4 separate regions of the Homo sapiens genome follow, and all the other regions are linked to region 1. The links are contacts of gene promoters, found by promoter capture Hi-C in blood cells and fetal thymus (Javierre and others, 2016). All regions are on one chromosome and are shown on one strand. The core of a region is centred on a gene start or on the middle of the fragment in contact, and the rest is flanking DNA. Distances in the headings are between cores, read along the strand shown.

Region 1 (3,360 bases), core at 838-3,337:
CGGCAGTACAGCCTCTTACATAAATAAGTTACATAAATGAGAACAAGTTATGTAAATGCATAAACCAGCAAACATGAATTATAACCATTCACAAATGCCAAGGAGAACACGGTAAGATTCCTCCTACGGTCCCATTTTTTTCTCCCGCACATTATCATAATTGTGCCATTTTATTTCACATCAGAATCAGATGTGGTTGTCATATTTATTAGGAAAAGGAACTCCAAAGGACAAATAATACTTCACATTATTTTCTGAACCACATATTGTACTTTTGGCAGAAATCCCATAATAGAACCTGACTTTATATTTGAAAAGAAGTTTATGAGTGTTTATTAATTTACTATGCTCCTTGTAATAAACATGAACACATTGATTACATATTTACTGTTGTAAATTTTGCAACATGCCATTAAGAACAAGGATGCGTTACAAAAATGAATGTGCGTGTACACATGGATATTTGTTTGTGATTTCAAGTCTCAAGGGAGTATGTGGACATCAGCTGAAAGTCACTGTTCTGCTTGTTAAGGTAGTAATTTAGGGGTTAGGATTGGATTTAAGGTTATGCTCATGACTTAATCCCAATGCTTCCCATGCCAAATGCTTAGGAGGTGCTCCTTGGATCTAGCTGCAATTTGCTTCAGGTGCAATGTGAGTGATAAATGAACTTGTTTCTGTCTGCATCCTGTTGGAACAGGAGGCTTGGCTTTTTCTCAGGCACCTCTTTTTTATTCATTCCCTTTAGGGTAATATAACTCTGTCTTTTCTGACGTTACACGACTTGTTGATTGTGTAGTGAAAACACATGAACTCAAAACATTTTTTAGCCTTAATTGCCTGTTCCTTATAAAGAGAAATATTAAACGTTTACCAATTTCATACATAGCATGCTCAGGTGAACTTTCCAATTAGCAACTTCTTTTACTTTGAAAATCTCATATATTTCTATGAAATATTACATATTTTATTAAATATTACATATTAGTCTAACGTAGTAGTAGTGGAATAGACGTGATCTTAAAATCTGTATTAGCTGTGTGATTTTTGACAAATAACTTTCCCTGTGTTTCCAATCATTTGAAAAAGGACTAAAAGTCCTAAGTGACTTCCAACATTAGCGATCTAATACCCTATCATCAAATCTGTATTTTCAGCTGAGAGCTTTAAACTTGCTGCTGTGAAGTTTAAGGGAAATAGCACCCATTATATATCAACCCGATCATTTTCTTCTGTCAGCAAAACTGCAGAGCCAGCTTGGGTTGTAGTAATACGGTGACCGCCATGTGAAACATGTTTCTTGGTGTTTTCTTTTAAAACTGCCAAATATAGACCTTAACCAGCTGTAAGGCAGTGCTTGAGGTGTGGAGACACCTGAGGAAGCTGTGGGCTTTCTCCCTCGAGGTGGGCCCACGATGAGTTTTAAGCAAGACGGGCAAGCAGTCACCTGGCACCAGGAAAAACTCCTTGCCCTCTGGAGGGAGTCGCCCCAGGAACGTGGGTTTTTTGTTCATATTTAAAGTTGAGTCCTCTAGAACCGAAGAGTCCCAGTCATCTGCCGAAGGTGCGCTCCCAGGCCCCCTGCTTGGGCGCGCCCACCTGGAACATGGGCGTAGAGCTATGAAAATGCAGACCCGCACAAGCGCGAGGCCACGCGGGGAGACCCCCGCCCGCCAGGAGTTGGGGCAGGTCCGGCCTGGGCGGGGGCGTCGGGGGAGGGGTGGTGACCCGGAGTCCCGCGCGGCAGGGGAGCGTCCCCCAACCCCCGGCAGGGGCGAGGGCCACCGCAGGTGGCGGCGTTGGCAGACAGGCAAGCGGGGACTGAAGCTCCGGGGTCCTTCCGGCTTTGTTCCGTCACGAGCCGAGCCCTCCTTTCCGGAGAAGCCAATTAGATCTCCGACGGAGGAATCATCCGACCTGCGTCCCCCACCCGGAGGGGGCTCGGAAGGGGCGGGGCCCAGCGCTTGGCTCCTCGGGAGCGCGGCCGCGGGCGGCGTGGGGGAGTCCCGGGCGCCGTCGCCGAGCCCGGCCCCGCCCTCGCCAGGCCCCGCCCTCGGGGCTTCCCGGGCGCGCGCAGCCCCGCCGTGTCCGCGCGCCACGCCCCCCTGCTCGCGGGCCGCGTGCGGAGCCGCGCGCCCGGGAGGCTCCGGGACCGTGGCGGCGGGCGGCGGCGGCGCAGCCCTCCGCGGGCCATGTCCTCTCCGGCGGTGGCGAGGACCTCCCCAGGAGGGAGTCGGGAGATGGCCCCAGCGCCGCAGGGCCGAGGCCGGTTCTGGGAAGTGGGCGGCGGCAGCGGCCATCGGCTGGAGCGCGCGGCCGCGGAGTCGGAGCGCTGGGAGCTGCTGCTCCGCCGCGGGGAGCTGCTGGCGCTGGGCGGCCACCTGAAGGGCGCGCTGGAGGCGTTCGCGGCGGCGCTGCGCCGCGGGGCCCCGGCCAGGCCCGAGTGCCTGGGCGCCCTGGTGGACTGCCTGGTGTTCAACTACCGGCTCCGCCACGGGCTGGGCTGGAGCGCGGCCCCGGTTGCAGGCGCTGACGGCGGCGCCGGCGGGCTCCTCAGATGCCTGGGCTGCCGGGGCTTCCTGAGCGAGCCGGTGACCGTGCCCTGTGGCCACAGCTACTGCCGCCGCTGCCTGCGGAGGGAACTCCGCGCCCGCTGCCGCCTCTGCCGGGACCGGCTGCCGCCCGCCACCGCCAGTGCCACTGATGCTGAAGGGACCGCCCCGCGGCCGCCGCCTCTGGCCGCCGCCATCGCCGCTTCAGACTTCAGAACCAGCGTCGTCCTCAACCACCTGGCCGAGAAGTGGTTTCCGGGCCAGCGCGAGCGGGCCCGGGCGGCCGGCAGGCTCGGGGAGCTACTGCACCAGGGGCGCTACCGGGAGGCCCTGGCCGCCGCCTGCGAGGCGCTGCGAGCAGGTGACCGCGCGGGGATGCGGCGGGGCCGGGCCGACCGCACCCTCCTGGCCCCGAGGGCCGGGGACCCGGAGCTTGTCTGCGCCCCGAGAGTCTCCTCTGCTTCCCCGGGGCCGCTGGGCCGCTGGCGTGTCGGGTCTCGGGGTGCTGGGGGGTGTGGGAGGGGGCGGCGCCCCGGGGTGCTTCGGTCATAATGGGGATCGCCCTGGGAGCCGACTGTGACGCGGCGCGGGGAGGGGCGCTCGGCGCGGGGTTCCCTCGGCCGCGGCCTGGCTGTCGGGCGCGCGCTCCCGGCGCGGAGTGGGTGACCTGGACCGAGGCCGCCCCGGCGCGGGATGGGTGGTAGCTGGGCTATCCCGAGCGGCCGCTCGCTTCCTGCCGCGCGCTTTCCGGGAATTGGCTCTCGGGCCGGGCCCGCCGCGGGGAAACGACTGCCGGGGCGGGGAGAGA
Region 2 (3,342 bases), core at 19-2,518, about 21 Mb before region 1:
CCAACAAACGTTATCAAGCAAAGAAATGTTCAGATTTACATTTTACAGAGATAATTGTGACCAGAAGGGATGGACTTGAGAGTGAAATCAGAGCACTGTTTCTTTCAATAGCCGCATGAGAATTTGAGGGGTGGGGAAGACAAGGCACATTAAAATGAAAATTTCTGGGTCCACCCTTTATTGAATCAGAATCTCTGGGTTCAAGGCCTGGGAATCTGCATGTTACATCTCAAACATAGGAGTGATTCTTGTAGGCTCTGAAGTCTGAGCTATAGACTAGAATCAGAATGGCCAGTTAGGAAGCTTTTGCAATTATCCAATTAAGAAATGAAATGTCCTGGGTGCCATGGCTCATGCCTGTAATCCCAGCAATCTGGGAGGCTCAGGCGGGAGGATCACTTGAGTCCAGGAGTTCGAGACCAGCCTGAGCAACATAGTGAGGCCACTCATCTATACAAAACAATTAAAAAGTAGCTGGGCTTGGTGGCAGGCACCTGTGGTCCCAGTTTCTTGGGAGGCTAAGGTGGCAGGACTGCTTGGGCCCAGAAGTTGGAGGCTGCAGTAAGCTATTATTGCACCGCTGCACTCCAGCTGAGTGACAGAGCAAGACTCTAACTCAAAAAAGAAAAAGAGGGCCGGGAGCGGTGGCTCACGCCTATAATCCCAGCACTTTGGAAGGCTGAAGCAGGAGGATCACTTGAGGCCAGGAGTTCGAGAACAGCCTGTCCAACATGGCGAAACCCCGTCGCTATTAAAAATACAAAAATTATCTGGGCATGGTGGTAAGCGCCTGTAATCCCAGCTACTCAGGAGGCTGAGGCAGGAGAATCACCTGAACCCGAGAGGCAGAGGTTGCAGTGAGCTGAGATCGCGCCGCTGCACTCCAGCCTTGGCGATAGAGGCAGACTCTGCCTCCAAATACATAAGTAAATAAATAACAGATCTGTAGGCGGAAAACAATGTGGCAGTAATTGTTCCTTTGCCTTGGTGTCCCTGGGCAAAAGGCAGGCCCCCACTCCGGGGCATCGCTCGTCGCCGCTCCATTCTCTGCAGACCGAAGTTTCCCCAGGCCTGGGAAGACTAAGTGGGAGGCGCCCACCGTGCGAAGATCCTCCCGGCTTCCAGGGAAGGGAGGCTGGGCCTGCAAATAATAGCCGGGGGCAGGAGAAAGGCTCCGATTGGTCGGAGGGAGGGTGACGAACAAGGGGCGGAGTTTTCCTGGGGACTGGTGGGGGAAGTAAAAGGGAGGGGGTGTGCACCGCCGGGTGTCAGTTTCGGAACCCCAGCCAGCTCACCTCTGCGCCGCTGAACCCGATCCGAGCCTCCGGCAAAGGTTTTTCCCTCCTCCCCCGGCCGAGGGCTTCTGCAGCCCGGGCACCCCCGCCCCGCGGCGCCCCACATTCCCCCAGCCCGGGGCCCTTGGCGCGTGCGCTCCGTGCGGCTGTGCTCCGCGGGACTTTGTTTGTTTCCTCCTCGTCCCTCTTTGTTGGGCTGAACACCAGCCTCGTCAAAGCCCCCCACTCCGGAGGGAGTTCGGCTTCTCCAGCAGGGCGGCTGCAGCGCGCTGCCCCGACCCCGCCTGCGGCCCCTCACGCCGCTAGTGCTCCCACCCCGCCCTCCTGGCACCCCGCCTGCGTCCGTTCGCCCGAGGAAGCCAACCGCGACTTCATTGATGCACCCATTCCAGTGGTGTAACGGTGAGTCCCCGGGGCGAGGGCCGAGCCTACGTGGGGCTGGTGGGAGCCGCGGCGCGGGGTGCGAGGTCGGACAGCAGCGCGCTGGTCCTCCCTCGGGAACCAAGTTTCTCCTGAAATGGGACAGTCGAGAAGGCGTCTTGGCGCCCCACTCTGCTCTGCACAGCGCGGAATTTGAAACTATCCAGGTTTCACTCCAGAGCCTGGAAGGGGCCTCCGGACTGGCGGCGGGCCGGGGGCGTGGGAGCCGAGGGGTTCCCGGCCTTTGTGTGGCGGCCCGGCTCTTCTACCCCCTTCCCCTGCCTTTGTGCGCTCAAACTCTGTTCTTTGTTGTGGTTGTTGGAGGAGAATTAAATCCGCACTCGGGCTGGGATCTCCTAGAGGGAGCTCAAGTTCCCGGCCTGAAACTTTGCAGGCTATTGTAAATATGTATACCGTGCAGCGTGCGGGACTGGGCGCGGGGGTAGCTTCCTCTGGCTTTGTTGGTTTCCCACGGGCTGCTGGCGTGGCTTGGGTGCTTGCGGAAGACTGGATTAAAGAGTCGCTTTCGGCCAGGCGCGGTGGCTCACGCCTGTAATCCCAGCACTTTGGGAGGCCGAGGCGGGCGGATCACCTGAAGTCGGGAGTTCGAGACCAGCCTAACCAACATGGAGAAACTCCGTCTCTACTAAAAATACAAAATTAGCCGGGAGTGGTGGCGCATGCCTGTAAGCCCAGCTACTTGGGAGGCTGAGGCAGGAGAATCGCTTGAACCCAGGAGGCGGAGATTGCAGTGAGCCTAGATCGTGCCATTACACTCCAGCCTGGGCAACAAGAGCGAAACTCCATCTAAAAAAAAGCCGTTTTCCTGAGTTGATAAACCCTCGCAGAGAGCTCCGCGCCCGGCTGTCCCTGGGGTGCGAGGCTGGCCTGGCGGGAGCCGTGTTTCTGGCCACAAGGCCAGATTAGGGTGTCTGCTCCTGAGCCCAAGTGAAGGCCACACCTCCAGACGCGACAACCCCTCGCCCCATTTCTCCCCAGGCCTGGGTGATGCTTCTAAGTTAGTTCATTTCACCTGAGGCTTTTTGGAGGTTCAGGTGATACTGGGTTAGGCTGGAGTCTGATTCCTCAGCGAGCTACCTGAAAGGTAGGTGTTTCTGAGCGGGACACTTCAAAACCTTGGATACTAATCGCCCCCCACCCCACCCGCTCCAGTCCTCCTGGGGTCCTAGTCTTGACCGCGTTGTTCCGATGCTTGGAGAGTTTCTGGGAGAGAGAGATGGGAAGCAGCTGGCCTTATCTCTCAGTATGGCAAGCGAGCTAGTTACAGGGGGAAAAAAATCATTCTTTAGAGTAGACTCCTGCCAGATCTTGGATTAATTATGTCAAGAGGCTTTGTTTTGAGGCAGGGTTTGGGTAGCATGTATACCCCACATCCCCCCACCCCGCCTTCCTCCTTTTGCTGGTCGGATCTCATTTCCTGAAAATGAACCAAGCCGTGTGTGATAGGCGGTTTTGTGGGAGAGGGGGCAGAGGATGGGGGTTGAGGAAGGCCCTTGCACCCTAGCATCTGGGAAAGATTCCCGTTGGCTGGGAAAGAGAAGCAGTTCCCAGATCCCCTGGTCTTTCTTGGCCAGCCCTTGTCTGACGTCATTCCTGCTCCCAGCCT
Region 3 (3,258 bases), core at 578-3,077, about 21 Mb before region 1:
TGTCTGGTGGGGGATGGTAGGAAACAGGTAAGAAGAATAAGGGAGCTCTTTTAGGCTTGTGGCTTTAAGTATCATCTCTAAATGGATGACTCCTAAATTGTTATTTTCTGGTCAGACTTCTTTCCTGAGCACCAGATTTTTATATGACATCTCTTCAATATCTAAAAGGCAACATAAATATTAACATATCCACAAGGAGTTCTCAATTCCACATCCCTCGTAAGAACAGTCTTCCCTAGAGTTCCCCCACTTCAATAAATAAAATCACCATTTAACTATGTATTTATATCCCAAATCCTTTGATTTCTTCCTTTTCTTCTTCACTTAATCCATCACCAAAGTCTTGTCAATTATACTGACGTAAAAGGTCTCAAATTCATCAATTTCTTTTCATCTCCACCATTAAATTACTACCTTAGGCGAAGCCACTTTCGTTTTTAAAAAAATTTATTTACTTTAGAGATAGGGTCTCTCTGTCACCCAGGCTGGAGTGCAGTGGTGCCATCATAGCTCACTGCAGCCTCGGACTTTTCGGCTCAAGTAGTCCTTCTGCCTCAGCCTTCGAAGTAACTGGGACCTCAGGCGAACACCACCGCGCCCAGCTAATTTTTTATTTTTTGTAGAGATGGAGTCTCACTTTATTGCCTAGGCTGGAATCGAACTCCTGGCCTCAAGCGATCCTCCAGCCCCAGCCTCCCAAAGCGTTGGGATTACAGGCATGAGCCACTGTGTCTGGCTTGAAGCAACCTTTGTCATACCCTAGTCTCCTTGCTTTCATTTTTTCCCTCCAAAAGTCCTTCACACAGCAACTAGACAACTTTTCACAAACATAGATCATTAAAAGGCCTAAAAAACACTTCCTACAAGATTCTGCATGACCTCGCCCTGGCAAGCATATCTAATTTCATTACCTGTCTTACATTGTCACTTTGATGACCCTTATATTCATTCTCTCATATCTTCAACTCTTTGTACTTTACTGTTCCTACTGCCTGGATTGCTTTTTCCTCAGCTCCTCAGTGACTGGCTTATTCTTATCTTTTAGATCTCAACTCAAACATCTTCTGTTCAGAGAAACCTTCCCTGAGTAACCCTATCTGAAGTGTCCTTCATCATCTCTGGTCTTTCTTTCATAGTATGATTATATAGTGTAATTGTTAACTTATTTGTTCACTTGTTTACTGTGTCTCCCCCATCAGTGTTCCAGGAGAGGTGGGACATTTTTTCTGGTTAACCAAATCCTCAATAATTACCACAATGCCTGGCACACTGTAAGCACACTGTTATTTCTCCAACAAAAAACTCAATGAATGAATCTAGGATACTTCCGAAATTATGACTTAGGCAGAAGTAGAGCAAATGTAAAGAAAAGCCTACACAGGAAACGCAGATGGAAGAGTAACGCGCACATGGATGAGAAGGACGCTTAAACTTGGAGTCAGCTTCGCCAAATCCCGGGCCGCCCCCCACCCCAAGTCCGGAGCTGACAGCTGACAGCTGACAGCATGACGCGACGTCCTGCATTGGTAGGCACGAAGGACGGGACACATCGACCCCATGGGCTGAGGTGACGGAGTCCTGTGCTCACAACCCGGCCGGGGCAGCGGGCAGTAAACCCCTGCTAGACACGCGTGAGAACCTATGTTGGAAAATCGGGGTTCCGGAAGCCTCACATCCAGAGCGGCACGAGGCAACAGACCCGCTGCGTACGCGTTTTCTAAGTGTCCGAAAATGGGCAAAATTCCCTGCGCAAACCCCGGGTGTAAGAACAACCGGAGGAGACTCACATCATCCGACTGCATGGTGTCCGCGGCTCAGCGTGCAACTTCCGGTCGGATCGCGGGCGCAGACATGCTCCTTCCGGGAAACCAGTTCCGGAACGCGCAGCCTCACCTATCTCGAGAAACGCTGAGACTCTCGGTGTTGCGAAGCGTCCCCTGGCAGTCTCGTCGCCGCGCGCGCGCCCCCGCGTCTTCACCACGCTGGCGTCTGCGCGCGCCCGTCCGCAATGCTGGGCTTGTTCATGGGCGCAGCCTGGAGCTGGGAACCCTGTTGGGACCCAGTGCGATCCGCGGGAGGCAGGACGCGCGCAGTCTGCCGAATCCTGGAGCGCGGGGACCGCGGGGGTCGGGCGTGCTTCCCTAGCGCCCTGTTTGTGACCGTTCATGAGGATGGGACCCCTCCCTGTCGGGCCTCCCCTCTGCTGGGAGGAGGCTGGGGAAAGCTGCAGGCGGCGCGGCGGGGCTGGGTCCCCGCTCCTCCGAGTCCCCCGGCCCCAGCTCGCAGCCAGGCCCCGGCCCTGCCCCTCAGACCCTGACTTAGCCACTCCCCACGCCCACGTTGGGTGCGGCACCGGGTCCTGACTTTAGAAACTCAGAACTTGAATTCCTCCTGCTTTGAGAAACCACTGACCAAATGGAAAGAGCATTCCAATAATAATAAACACCTGTGTCTTCCTCATTGCCTATTTGAGACAACAAACAAAGTTGATAAGGGAGGGAAAATACCAAGAAGAAAAGTAGAGGTCTAATAACCCACAAAAACAAATCTGGAAGCCTAACAGCTCTTTTCCGCCAGGGGAAAAAGAAAATCTTTACTAGTTTGTATCGTATTATAGAAGAAAGACTGTCGGCCGGGCCGGGCGCGGTGGCTCTCGCCTGTACCTCAGCACTTTGGGCGGCCTAGGCGGGCGAGTTCCAGACCAGCCTGGCCAACATAGTGAAATCCCGTCTCTACTAAAAATACAAAAATTAGTCGGGCGTGGTAGCAGGTGCCTGTAATCCCAGCTACTTGGGAGGCTGAGGCAGGAGAATCGCTTGAACCCGGGAGGCGGAGGTTGCAGTGAGCCGAGATCATGCTGTGGCCCTCCAGCCTGGGTGACAACCAAAACTACCTCTCAAAAAAAAAAAAAGAAAAAGAAAAAAGAAAAGGAAAGAAAGACTGTCAAGAGGCATTTGAACCAGAGCAACCCCATCTTGAATAGTGGCTGGGTAAAATAAGGCTGAGATCTGCTAGGCTGCATTCCCGAGGGTCAGGCCATCTAAATCACAGGATGAGGTCAGCACAAAATACAGGTCATAAGGATGTTGCTGATAAAACAGATTGCAGTAAAGAAGCCAGTCAAGACCCACAAAACCAAGATGGCAATGAGTTTGACCTCTGGTCGTCCTCACTGCTACACTCCCACTGGCGCCACAAATGCCATGGCAACATCAGGAAATTACTCTATATGGTCTAAAAAGGAGAGGCGTAAGTAAT
Region 4 (3,261 bases), core at 424-2,923, about 21 Mb before region 1:
CCAGGGTCCGAAGCTCCCGCCTGTGCAGTGGCACAAATGAAGTTTGCCTCCTCGGGCTCCTGCGAAACCGTGGAAGCTATGAGAGTCACAAGGTCCTAAATGGAAGCAGCTCCTCGGGAACTGAAGGCCAATCGGACGCAATTCTACCCTCCAGGAAAGCGCAGGAAGAGGGAACAAGCAATGCCGACGCGGCGTGGGGGACCCAACACAGGGCGGTCGCACAGGCGCGACCCTTCTCGCGCCTTCTCAAAACCCAAGCAAACACCACTGGTTCCTACACCCGCCGAGCCCGAGTCTGCAGCCTCCAGCTCCCCTGGCCCGTTCCGGGCGCCGCCTGCGACCCATGCCCAAGACAGCGCTCTGCTGTCCCTGCGCACCCGGCGCCGACACTGGCGGGGCGGGCCCAAGCCGGATCCGCCAACCCGACGACCCACCTCCCTCAGGGCTGCCCCAGACGCCAGCTGGGGGCTTCTACCTTGACGCTAGAATTTGAATTTTCAAACGCTTGTGGCTACAGGCTTTAAAACGCTAGCTCCAGAAACCAGCTAAAGTATTGCATTGAACAGAAAACCAAATACCGCATGCTCTCATTCATAAGTGGGAGCTAAACATTAGGAACACGTGGACATAAAAGTGGCAACAACAGACACTGTGGTCTACTAGAGGGGGCAATGAAAACGGGCTAAGCTGCACTCCAAATCCCAGCATCCCACAACATATCCAGGTAACAAACCTGCGCAGGTATCTCCCAAACCTAAAAAATTAAAGCCATTAAAAAGCTCTGCATTGGCCAGGCGCGGTGGCTCACGCCTGTAATCCCAGCCCTTTGGGAGGCCGAGGCGGGCGCATCACGAGGTCAAGAGATCGAGACCATCCTTGCCAATATTTATACAAAAATTAGCTGGGCGTGGTGGCGCGCGCCTATAGTCCCAGCTACTCGGGAGGCTGAGGTAGGACAATCTCTCGAAAACCGGAGGTGGGGGTTGCAGTGAGCCGAGATCGCAACACTGCAACTCCAGCCTGGCGACAACGCGAGACTCCGACTCACAAAAGAACAAACACAAAAACACATTACACAGTTGGACAACGGAAAAGCACCCGTGCGTGTAGCATACAGCCAGAAAAAAGGGCACCCGAAAACGGTAAACACAAAGCCATGAAACTAGGCCACCTGTTATCATAAGTAACAAGCCCACAAATACAAGTGTTAAATCGATCCTTGAAGTTCAGGTCAGACGGGTAATGTGCCCACGTCGTAACAAGGTTCAAGGGTGGCACATCTCACACAAGCGTATGAACACCCAATCATCACGCTCATGAACTACAAAAGGATCATCTTATAGTTGACATTAAGGAGTGCCAAGTATGTGCCACTAATTTACACATAGGGTGACTACCGTAATGCGATACATCCATTCTTCACGTATAAAATCCTGGATATTTTCAAAGTCCCACTGAGATTCTGTGATTATTCTTTTGTTTCTACCTTAGCAAAGGAAAACAGAAACACAATTAGCGAGCGGATTATTATATATGCAAATTTATTCTCTATAGTTCCACCTCTCCGTCATTTTCCCGAGCCTGGATCTTTATTGCTTTACGACCATACGTCGTGAAATAAGAAGGTGTTGCGGCAGTACTGGCGGAAGCTAGCCTTGCGTTTTGCGGCAGCAATATGAGCTAGGTCCGGATCCTGTTAGACACCGGCGGGCGCGAGCCGTTGCAGGTACCTGGGGGTGGTTAAGTTGGTGACATGGCTCAGAAGTTTATTTCTTTAAATTTTTAAGTTTTTTTTCTTTTTAGTCTTCAGAAAGGCAACAGTAGTCTTTTAACGTCACTGTTAAAAGTGTAAGACTCTTTTACTCCCTGAGAGTCCCCTTTCCCTTTCTTGCGTCCTTTCCTCTTTATTCTTTTTTTTTTTTTTTTTTTTACTGAGACGGAGTCTCACTCTGTCGCCCAGGCTGGAGTGCAGTGGCGCGATCTCGGCTCACTGCAAACTCCGCCTCCCGGGTTCACCCTTTCTCTTTATTCTTATCCCGGTCAGACTCGCCCCCTCCTCCAAGACATCTCTCTGTTTTATTTTATTTGATTTTAGTTCTCTTTGGGTGATCGCTCCTTCCCTCTTCAACGGATCCCTCCCCGCCTCCATCCTCGTTCTGTGGGAGAGACCAGCCTTCTGGTGCTGCAGTCAGGAATGGAGCTTGACAGCGCTCTGGAAGCCCCATCGCAGGAAGACTCTAATTTGTCCGAGGAGTTGTCTCACTCCGCCTTTGGACAGGCCTTCTCCAAGATTTTACACTGTCTTGCCCGCCCGGAGGCACGACGAGGCAATGTAAAAGATGCAGTTCTTAAAGACCTCGGTGATCTAATAGAAGCCACAGAATTTGATAGGTTATTTGAGGGGACTGGTGCACGGCTCCGCGGAATGCCGGAGACACTGGGGCAGGTAGCAAAAGCCCTGGAGAAGTATGCAGCCCCCTCCAAGGAGGAGGAAGGTGGAGGTGATGGGCACTCCGAAGCGGCCGAGAAAGCAGCCCAAGTTGGGTTACTGTTTCTTAAACTGTTAGGGAAAGTTGAGACTGCTAAGAATTCCCTGGTCGGCCCTGCATGGCAGACGGGCCTGCATCACTTGGCAGGACCCGTTTATATTTTTGCCATCACACACAGCTTGGAGCAACCATGGACCACTCCGAGATCTCGGGAAGTTGCTAGGGAGGTGCTCACCTCACTGCTTCAAGTTACTGAATGCGGTTCTGTGGCAGGATTCCTACATGGAGAAAATGAAGATGAGAAAGGGAGACTTTCGGTGATACTAGGGCTTCTCAAACCCGACTTGTATAAGTGAGTACTCCTGCCCTTTGCCACCGACTTGAGCCTCACAGTTTTTTATTTTTATTTTTTATTATTTATTTATTTTCGAGACAGAGTTTCACTCTTGTTGCCCAGGGTGGAGTGCAATGTTGCGATCTCAGCTCACTGCAACCTCCGCCTCCTGGGTTCAAGCGATTCTCCTGTGTCAGCCTTCGGAGTAGCTGGGATTACAGTTGCCCGTCACCACGCCTGGCTGATTTTTTGTATTTTTAGTAGAGACGGGGTTTCACCATGTTGGCCAGGCTGGTCTTGAACTCTTGACCTCAAGTGATCCACCCGCCTCGGGCTCCCAAAATGCTGGGATTACAGGCGTGAGCCACTGCGCCTGCCCTAGCTTAATTTTTTATAGCGTTATACCTCAAAGGAAGCTCAATTTCTTCAGCAGTAAAA

What was found. Contacts are between HindIII fragments. The CHiCAGO score rates a contact against its expected background, and 5 or more counts as called.
Region 2: a contact is called between the fragment with the promoter of RNF122 here and the fragment with the promoter of LONRF1 in region 1, in 4 of 17 cell types (naive CD8 T cells, non-activated CD4 T cells, total CD4 T cells and 1 more). The highest score is 9.7, in naive CD8 T cells.
Region 3: a contact is called between the fragment with the promoter of MAK16 here and the fragment with the promoter of LONRF1 in region 1, in 5 of 17 cell types (non-activated CD4 T cells, total B cells, naive CD4 T cells and 2 more). The highest score is 17.3, in non-activated CD4 T cells.
Region 4: a contact is called between the fragment with the promoter of TTI2 here and the fragment with the promoter of LONRF1 in region 1, in 1 of 17 cell types (naive CD8 T cells). The highest score is 6.5, in naive CD8 T cells.

Annotation. Positions count from the first base shown.
Region 1 is chr8:12,754,253-12,757,612 of GRCh38, reverse strand. LONRF1 (LON peptidase N-terminal domain and ring finger 1) reads left to right here and starts at 2,087. Exons shown (of 12, transcript NM_152271.5): 1 at 2,087-2,913. The coding sequence starts at 2,193. RefSeq lists enhancers at 81-140, 1,794-2,613 and silencers at 1,589-2,258, 2,339-2,678, 2,682-2,872, 2,769-3,308, 3,359-3,360. The HindIII fragment of the contact is 11,195 bases long and covers 1-3,360 here.
Region 2 is chr8:33,565,054-33,568,395 of GRCh38, reverse strand. RNF122 (ring finger protein 122) reads left to right here and starts at 1,268. Exons shown (of 6, transcript NM_024787.3): 1 at 1,268-1,697. The coding sequence starts at 1,673. RefSeq lists silencers at 1,384-1,503, 1,554-1,623, 1,654-1,703, 1,844-1,893. The HindIII fragment of the contact is 8,620 bases long and covers 306-3,342 here.
Region 3 is chr8:33,483,751-33,487,008 of GRCh38, reverse strand. It overlaps MAK16 (MAK16 homolog), which reads right to left and starts at 1,827. Exons shown (of 10, transcript NM_032509.4): 1 at 1,788-1,827. The coding sequence starts at 1,802. RefSeq lists silencers at 1,820-2,007, 2,218-2,407 and enhancers at 1,898-2,047, 2,035-2,671. The HindIII fragment of the contact is 3,746 bases long and covers 1-3,258 here.
Region 4 is chr8:33,511,547-33,514,807 of GRCh38, reverse strand. It overlaps TTI2 (TELO2 interacting protein 2), which reads left to right and starts at 1,673. Exons shown (of 8, transcript NM_001102401.4): 1 at 1,673-1,726; 2 at 2,096-2,841. The coding sequence starts at 2,195. SNORD13 (small nucleolar RNA, C/D box 13) reads right to left here and starts at 1,333; the gene lies at 1,230-1,333. RefSeq lists a silencer at 1,022-1,071 and an enhancer at 1,502-1,641. The HindIII fragment of the contact is 19,476 bases long and covers 1-3,261 here.